Linked DNA regions of Homo sapiens: region 2 is linked to region 1. The links are contacts of gene promoters, found by promoter capture Hi-C in human tissues and cell types (Jung and others, 2019). All regions are on one chromosome and are shown on one strand. The core of a region is centred on a gene start or on the middle of the fragment in contact, and the rest is flanking DNA. Distances in the headings are between cores, read along the strand shown.

Region 1 (4,264 bases), core at 554-3,053:
GGCCTGACCAACATGGAGAAACCCCGTCTCTACTAAAAATACAAAATTAGCCAGGCTTGGTGGTGCGCTCCTGTAATCCCAGCTGCTCAGGAGGCTGAGGCAGGAGCATCCTGGAGCCCTGGAGGTGGAGGTTGTGGTGAGCCGAGGTCGCGCCATCGCACTCCAGCCTGGGCGACAAGAGCAAAATTCCGTCTCAAAAAAATTTTTTTGTGTGTGTGTACGGTGTATGATAAGGGTCTAACTGCATTATTTGTATGTGAATAGCCAGTTTTCCCAACACCATTTGTTGAAGATACTGCTTTTTCTGCCACTGAATGGTCTTGGCACCCTTGCCAAAGATTATTTAACCATTAATGTGAGGGTGGGCCAGGCATGGTGCCTCACGCCTGTAATCCCAGCACTTTGGGAGGCAGAGGTGAGAGGATCCTTTGAGGCCAGGAGTTTGAGACCAGCCTGGGCAATGTAGTGAAACTAGGTCTCTGCCAAAAAAAAAAAAAAAAATAGCCAGACATGGTGACACCCACATCTAGTCTCAGGTACTTGGGAGACTGAGGTGGGAGGATAGCTTGATCACAGGAGTTTGAAGTTTCAGTGAGCTACAATCATACCACTGTGTGCCAGCCTGGGCAACAGAGTGAGATCTTGTAACAAAAATAATAATAATAATAATAATAATAATAATAATAATAATAATAATAAATGTAAGGATGTATTTCCGGGCTCTCTATTCCATTAGTCTATATCTCTGTCTTTATGCCAAGTACCACATTGTTTTGATTACTGTAGCTTTGTAACACATATTGAAATCAGGAAGTAGTCTTCTTACTTCTTAAGATTTTTTAAACTTAATTTTTATTTTTTGAGACAGGGTCTCACCCTGTCACCCAGGCTAGAGTGCAGTGGTGGGTCCAGGCAATTCTCCTGCCTCAGCCTCCTGAGTACCTGGGACTACAGGTGCTCGCCACCACGCCTGGCTAATTTTTGTATTTTTAGTAGTGACGGGGTTTCACCACGTTAGCCAGGCTAGTCTCAAACTCCTGACCTCAAGTGATCCACAAGCCTTGGCCTCCCTAAGTGCTGGGGTTATAGGCATGAGCCACCTCACCTGGCCTACGATTTATTTATTTATTTATTTATTTTATTTTATTTTTATTTTTTGACACAAAGTCCCTCTCTTGTCCCCCAGGCTGGAGTGTGATGGCATGATCTCGGCTCGCTGCAACCTCTGCCTCCCAGGTTCAAGTGATTCTCCTGCCTCAGCCCCCTGAGTATCTGGGATTAAAGGCACCTGCCACCACGCCCGGCTAACTTTTGTAGTTTTCGTAGAGACAGAGTTTTACCATGTTGGCCAGGCTGTTCTAGAACTCCTGACCTCAGATGATCCACCCTCCTCAGCTTCCCAAAGTGCTGGGATTACAGGTGTGAGCCAATGTGCCCGGCCTTTTTAATTTTTTTTTTTAATTTGGTGTGATATCAGTTAGAATTAAAAAATTTTTTAATTAATATTATTTTGATTGACAAATCATAGTTGTTTACATTTATGAGATACAAGGTGATTTTTAAATTTTTTTTTTATAGAGATGAGATCTAGCTATGTTACCCAGGCTGGTCTCAAACTCCTGGCCTCAAGTTATCCACCCGGCTCCACTTCTCAAAGTGCTGGGATTACAGGCATGAGCCACTGTGCCCAGCTACACACACACACACACACACACACACACACACACACACACACACATATATATAGATATATATATTTTAATAGGCAGTACTCTGTAATCCCAGCTACTCGGTAGGCTAAGGCAGAAGGATACCTTCAGCCCAGGAGTTTGAGACCAGCCTAAAAAAAAAGAAAAGGAAAAGGCAGTATATTCCTGTGGTTCAAAATTCCAAAGGTACTAAAGATTTTAACAGAAAAATCTCTCTCCCACCTGTTCCCTAACCACCAAATTCCTGTCCAAAGTCACAGTCATTCTTATCAGTTACCCAAAGATTTTCCACACTTCTATAAGCAAATGCACGTTTAAGCAAATTTGCAGCCACTTCGTTTTTATATAAATGGTATAATTCCACGCACTGTTTGTATTTTGCTTTTTCGTGTAATGCCGTATCTTGGAGGTTTGACATCATTACCCTAAAACTTACAACCTTGTGCATTGTTTTTTTTTTGTTTGTTTGTTTGTTTGTTTTTGAGACAGAGTCTTGCTCTGTCACCCAGGCTGGAGTGCATTGGCACAATCTTGGCTCACTGCAACCTCTGCCTCCCGGGTTCAAACCATTCTCCTGCCTCAGCCTTCTGAGTAACTGGGATTACAGGTGCCTGCCACCACACCCGGCTAATTTTTGTATTTTTAGTAGAGATGGGGTTTTGCTATGTTGGCCAGGCTGGTCTCGAACTCCGTTTCACTCTGTTGCCCAGGCTGGAGTGCAGTGGCACGATCTTGGCCCACTACAACCTCCACTGCGGGCTCAGGTGATCCTCCCACCTTAGCTTCTTGAGTAGCTGGGATTACAGGCGCCTGCCACCATGCCCGGCTAATTTTTGTATCTTTTGTAGAGGCAGGAGTCTCACCATGTTTCTCAGGCTGGTCTCGAACCTCTGAGCTCAAGCCATCCTCCTGCCTCAGCCTTCCAAAGTGCTGGGATTACAGGTGTTAGACATCACACCCGGCCAGTGCATTCTTTTTCTATTGTTTGAGATGGAGTCTCACTCTGTTGCCCAGGCTGGAGTGCAGTGGCAGTGATCTTGGCTCACTGCAATCTCCACCTCTCAGGTTCAAGAGATTTTCTTGCCTCAGCCTCCCAAGTAGCTCGGATGACAGGCACGTGCCACCATGCCCAGCTAATTTTTGTATTTTTTAGTAGAGACGGGACTTCACCATATTGGACAGGTTGGTCTCGAACTCCTGACCTCGTGATCCGCCCGCCTTGGCCTCCCAAAGTGCTGGGATTACAGGCAGGACCACCGTGCCCGGCCCAGTGCATTCTTTTTTAATAGCTGCATGGTTATGCTGTTGTGTGGATGGACTTTAAATAGCTACCTCATGATGGACATTTAGATTGTTTTAATAGTTTACCCCCCAGAAGCTGCAATGAATAATCTTATGTGTAAGTCATTTAGCCCGCGTGGGAGGACTTCTGTATAATGAATCCCTTGAAGAAGAGTCGTTTGGTCAAAGTGAATATGCATGTGTGATTTTGCTAGATACTGCCAAATTCCCCTTCGGGGGAAGGGATTAGTTGACACTCCCACAAGAGGTGGCCCACAGTAGCTGTTTCCCCACACCCTTGCCAGCTCAGAGTGCTATCAAACTCCTTAATCTTTTGCCAAACTGTTAGGTAAAGATGAGTCTTTTTTTATTTAAACAGAGTCTTGCTCTGTCGCCCAGGCTGGAGTGCAGTGGCACGATCTCGGCTCGCTGCAACCTCCATCTCCTGGGTTCAAGCAATTCTCCTGCCTCAGCCTCCCAAGTAGCTGGGATTACAGGTGTGTGCCTCCACACCCAGCTAATTTTTGTATTTTTAGTAGAGATGGGGTTTTGTCCTGTTGGCCAGGCTGGTCTTGAACTCCTGACGTCAGGTGATCTGCCTGCCTCGGCCTCCCAAAGTGCTGGTATTACAGGCGTGAGCCACCACACCCAGCCAAGGTTAGAGTCTTATTATAGTCTTAATTTGCATTTCTTTTATTATGAAAAATAGCGGAGCATCTTTTCATATGTTTGCATTGTTTCTATTTACTCTTCTGTGATCTATCTGTACACGTCCATTGACATTTTTTTGAGTAGTCTTTTTCTTATTTATTTCATGAGAAGCAGCTATATTTTTCCCGTTTGTCACTGATCTTTTTAAAAAACATGTTTCTGAAGTATAACATGCTCCACACAGTGTGAAATCAGAAGCGTGCAGCTTGATGGATCTTCAAAAAGTGGAGCTTCCTGTGACACTTGGCATTTAATATCGTTTATACTCATCAAGGCTTTTGACACGAGACGTTTCTTATTACAGAGTTGAGTTTATCAATCTCTTTTTTTTTTTGAGACAGAGTTTCGCTCTGTTGCCTAGGCTGGAGTGCAGCAGTGGTGTGATCTCGGCACGCTACAACTTCTGCCTCCTGGGTTCAAGCGATTCTCCTGCCTCAGCCTCCCGAGTAGCTGGGAGTACAAGCACCCACCACCACGCCCGGCTAAATTTTGTATTTTTAGTAGAGATGGGGTTTCACTATGTTGGCCAGGCTGGTCTGGAACTCCTGACCTCAGGTGATCTG
Region 2 (4,264 bases), core at 1,189-3,688, 880 kb after region 1:
CGATCAGATCCTGGGACAGTGCAGGGAATATCAGAGCACAGGAGGAGCACATGGAGGACCTTGGGTGGGGAGCAGGGCTGAGGGAAGCTAGGGGTTCCCCTGCCATACCACAAAAGCCTCCCGCACAAGGTACAGCACCCCCCACCTTTCCCTTCCCCACCCCAGCCCCTACCTCCTCCCAAGGCTTCCACAGCCTGAGTCCCCCCTCTTTCTCTTCTGGTCCCTTCTCTCCACCCAGCCCCTTCCACCCTGATACTCCTCTCCCTGAGCCTCTCTCTCTGCCTCCTCACTCAGATCACGTTCTCTCTCTGGTTATCTCCTCTCTCCTCTGTCTCATTCTCTCTCGAACTCTTTATTTCCCCATTTCCCTGTTTAGTATTCTGATTGCACTCTGATTTCATGATTCGAGATCCACTAGTTTTTGTGTTTCATTCTCTCTGTCTCTGTCTTCCACCATTTCTCTGAGTCTGGTTCTCTGAATTTCCATCTCTGTTTCTATGTGTCTGTTTTTCTGTCTGACTGTCACCTAATCATTCTGTCTCTGTCTCTCTGGTTCTGTCTGTGCCCAGGTTTGACTTTCTCTGACAGTCTCGTTCTGTGTTCCCTGAATCTCACAGGAATGCAGGCTCTTTCCTCTGCAGTCTCTCTCTGCCTGCTCTTCTCTAGCCTGGCTCCCCATCTCCCTGAGCCCATATCCCTCCCTCTGCCTCTAGGCCACTCCTGCCACTCTGGGGGCCTCACCTGGCAGGTAGCCCATCTCTGGGCCCCTCCTCAGCAGGGCCCCATGAAGCAGTTCAGCCAGGGCCTCAGAGGCCACCGTGGGGGTCTCACTTCCAGGCTCTGGCAATATCTCCTCCTCCTTCAGGGGCAGACCTAGGAGGTGAAGTTGTGTGAGCTTCTCCACTTCCCCACACCCCTTCCTTCTCCAGAGAGATATTTTCTAGAACTCTTCCTCCCTCCTCCATCAGCTGGGCCTGCAGGGGCTCAGATGGTCCCAGGCTCGACTGAGGGCCAAGATCGGAGGAGGGGCTCCCAGCTGCCCTCATACTCCCACTCCCACACCTCTTCTCTCCCCTCCCCTCTCCCTTCTCCCTGGGCTGTGTGGGCCTTCATTGAACACCTTAGCTCTTATGGACCCTGGACAGCGCCAGCAAGGCAGAGGGGTCGCCGGTGCTGCCTTCCCTTTCACCTCAGTGGTGATCTCCCCCCAACCCTGGGGCTCTGCAGAGGATCTGGCCGCACCTCCCAGCCCTTGCTTCCGCAGTGCCTGGCTTTCTCTCTGGGTTTCTGTCTCTGCAGTGTGGCTGTCTTTTCTCTCTCTCTCTCTCTCTCTCTCCCCCCCACCCTCTCTCTCTCTGGTCCTCTGCAGTCTCTGCCTCCTTCCCTGGAGTCTGGCTGGGGGTCAGAGTGGGGGACTGAAAATCTGGTCTTTGAGCCCTGCCTCTGCTCATCTGTCTTTGTCCATTCATCCAAGAACAGTTGTGTGTACAGCGCCTGGCATCTCTCTCAGCACCTCCATCTCCCACCCAGGTCCCTCCATGCTTCTGCCGCCTCCGCAGACATCCCCCCAACTTTCCCAGCCCTCCTTCTTGGATCTAGCCCCTGAGACACTGCTAAAAGCTTCTCTCATTCATTTCTCTGCCTTCTCAATATTGAGGGTTAAGGGGCTTCGGGTTCAAGCCTGAAAGCTCTGGCTTGCCCCTTCCCCATCAGCTGTGCCTCTCCCCTCCCCCATGTGCTCGGAAGACCCAGGATATTAAGAGAAAGGAGGGTGGAGGACCCCGCTGGACGCCTTCCTGGGGCCCACCCCCACAGTCTCATGTCCTTACCCTGGATCCAGGGACAGCTCAGCAGAATTAGGAACAGCAGCTGGGGAGGCGGCGGGTGCTGGGCCCTGGGAGTCCCCATGGCGACTCACCCCGATCTCTCTCCTCTGTGCCTCTCTAAGTAATCTGGCTGCCACCTTTCCTCCGTCTCCGTTTATCTTTCCCTTTAATTGTTTTTTTTTTTTTTTTTTTTTTCCTCGTAGGAGTCAGCAAAGAAAGACAATTTCTCTGCCCCTTGGGATGGAGGGGCAGAATTGGGCTAGGGGTCGCCTGGAGCCCACCCCCCTTTGCTCAGTCTCCTCTGTCCTCTTCTCGCGGCTCTGTGGTGGAGGGGGCGCGGCTCCGGCTGCAGGGGGTGGGGCCGAGAGGGCCGAAGGGGCCGGGTGGCCTGGGTTACCCTCCTGCTCAGGCGCCTGGGTCCACTGGGCTGTCTGGACCCCAAGCTAGGGGACTGGGGAGGAGAAAGACAGCTTCTGGGGGTTTAGGGTGGGGTCGAGGATCGAGGGGGTCTCCACTGGGCTCTAGCGGGGCTTGTCGGGGAGGGGAAGGGGTGGGTTGGGGAACTGGGAGAGCCGAAGCTCGGGCACTGGAGCTGCGGGAGGGAGAAGCTGAGAAAGGTATCGAGCCCACGTCAGATCCTGGGGACGGGCGGAGGGAGGGGCCTGGGATTTATTTGACGGGGAGGGAGGAGGAGGAAGTGCAGATGGAGGAGGGAGGGATCATACGAGCCAGGGCCGTAATCCTCACTCCCGCGGCCCCTAGGGGAGGCAAAGGAAACTCTCTGGTCCCAGCAGTAATTAGCCCCCTCCGCCTGCCATTCCAGCACATCTGGAATCTGAATCTCCTCTTCCCAGGGTGCCGAGGGGCTGCATAGCTTGGTTCGCGCCTGCTAGGCCCCCAATTATGCCCCCTGTTCACATTCAGACCTCCCAAGGGGCTTCCCTTCCCCTTTTACAGTAGCTCGGGTGGAATGGGCTCTCCCTCCTCCAGGGGAATAGAGAGCTTCCACGATTGTGACAAGTCTCGTGGGTGACGGGCCGGGGTTTGGGGAGGAGAGACAGACCCCTCCTCTTCCATAAACCCTGACCCCGGCCAGCTAACAGGCGGCCTCGGCTCTGATTTTCCCTCCGGAGCGCCCTTTTCAGCACCAGCGGCGCGCGGACAGCTCCCCTCGCCCCGCCGGGGCGGGCCCGGCCCGACGCCGCCCGCGATTGGCTGAGGCCGCTTTCGGTGTTTGCCAGGCTCGCGGGCTCCCGGGCTGCCTAGGGCCAGCGGGAGTCACAGGCCGACCGACCGACGGACCAGCCGCCCGACGGACTGGCCTCAGCATCCTTGCCCGCAGTCCCGGGCGCCTGCCCAGCCGTCAGTCCGCGCTCGCCCCGCCCCTCAGGCCCCGCCCCTCAGGCCCCGCCCGATACGACCCGCCCCTTCTTTCGCATTGCGGGACGGCTGGAGGCTGGCACCGTGGCCCCTGCGCCCCACGTGGCGCCCTTTCCGGGCGGGGGGGGTGGGGAGGCACCTCCAGCGACAACTCTCCCCCCTCCCCCGGCACCCGGCTGATTTGCTGTGCCACTGGGAGGGTTCGGGGGTGGCTGAGCTGAGAGGGCTCCGGGAAGGAGTGACGTCAGGGTGAGTGGGAGCCCAGGAAGGAGCGAGTAGGAGAGAGGGAGCGAGAGCCAGGCAGGACCGCAGGGTCGGGGCTAGTGAGGAGCGAGGGCAAGGAGAGAGCAGTGAGGCCGGAGAGAAAGAAGCTGCCGCGGAGGAAGACAGGCTGCGGGTTCCCGGGACTGCAGGTCCAGGCAGGGTAGGAACCGCTGCCCAGGGGAGCTAGGAGGAAGCGGGGAGAGAGAGCGAGCGAAAAGCGGGGGTGGGGAGGAAAGGGGGAGATTGAGGTGGGAGAGAGAAGCAGAGCGAGAGAGAGGAGGCTGCTGGAAGGAGAAAGAAGAGGGTGAGGAGGCGACAGAGGGAGAGGAGGAAGAAGAGGTAGAAGGAGAGAGAAAGGGGAGAGAAAGGAGAGAGGAGGGTTGGAGGTGCATGAAGGAGGGGAGAGGGAGCTTCAGCGTGGAGAGAGGACCGCGGAAGGAGAGAGAGACAGCCCAGAGTGGAATGTGGAAGGGAAACAGTCCAGCGGGGAGCCAGGGGGCAGCCATGGAAGGGACAGGTGGGGAGCTGGGGGGACAGGGGAACTGGGGTCCGGAGGACGCCCCAGGCCTCTTGGCCAGGGCCTCCCTGATCATGCTCCCGTGGCCACTACCCCTGGCCTCCTCGGCCCTCACCTTGCTCTTCGGGGCCCTCACTTCCCTGTTCCTCTGGTACTGCTACCGCCTGGGCTCCCAAGACATGCAGGCCCTAGGGGCTGGGAGCCGAGCTGGGGGTGTTCGTGGTGGGCCTGTGGGATGCTCGGAGGCCGGCGGGCCAAGCCCAGGGGGTCCTGGGGA

Evidence for each region. The method cuts DNA at HindIII sites, captures the fragments that hold promoters and counts their contacts. A contact is called where the count stands out against the background at its distance.
Region 2: the fragment with the promoter of SEZ6L2 here is called in contact with a fragment that was not itself captured in region 1 in 1 of the 25 tissues and cell types used here (lymphoblastoid cells).

Annotation. Positions count from the first base shown.
Region 1 is chr16:29,017,724-29,021,987 of GRCh38, forward strand. No RefSeq gene overlaps it. Among named protein-coding and RNA genes, the nearest start is that of LAT, 35 kb to the left of the region's middle. The HindIII fragment of the contact is 6,519 bases long and covers 1-4,264 here.
Region 2 is chr16:29,897,112-29,901,375 of GRCh38, forward strand. SEZ6L2 (seizure related 6 homolog like 2) reads right to left here and starts at 2,439. Exons shown (of 18, transcript NM_001243332.2): 1 at 1,830-2,439; 2 at 742-873; 3 at 1-10. The coding sequence starts at 1,908. ASPHD1 (aspartate beta-hydroxylase domain containing 1) reads left to right here and starts at 3,377. Exons shown (of 3, transcript NM_181718.4): 1 at 3,377-4,264. The coding sequence starts at 3,861. RefSeq lists an enhancer at 2,337-2,631 and a silencer at 2,995-3,424. The HindIII fragment of the contact is 10,220 bases long and covers 1-4,264 here.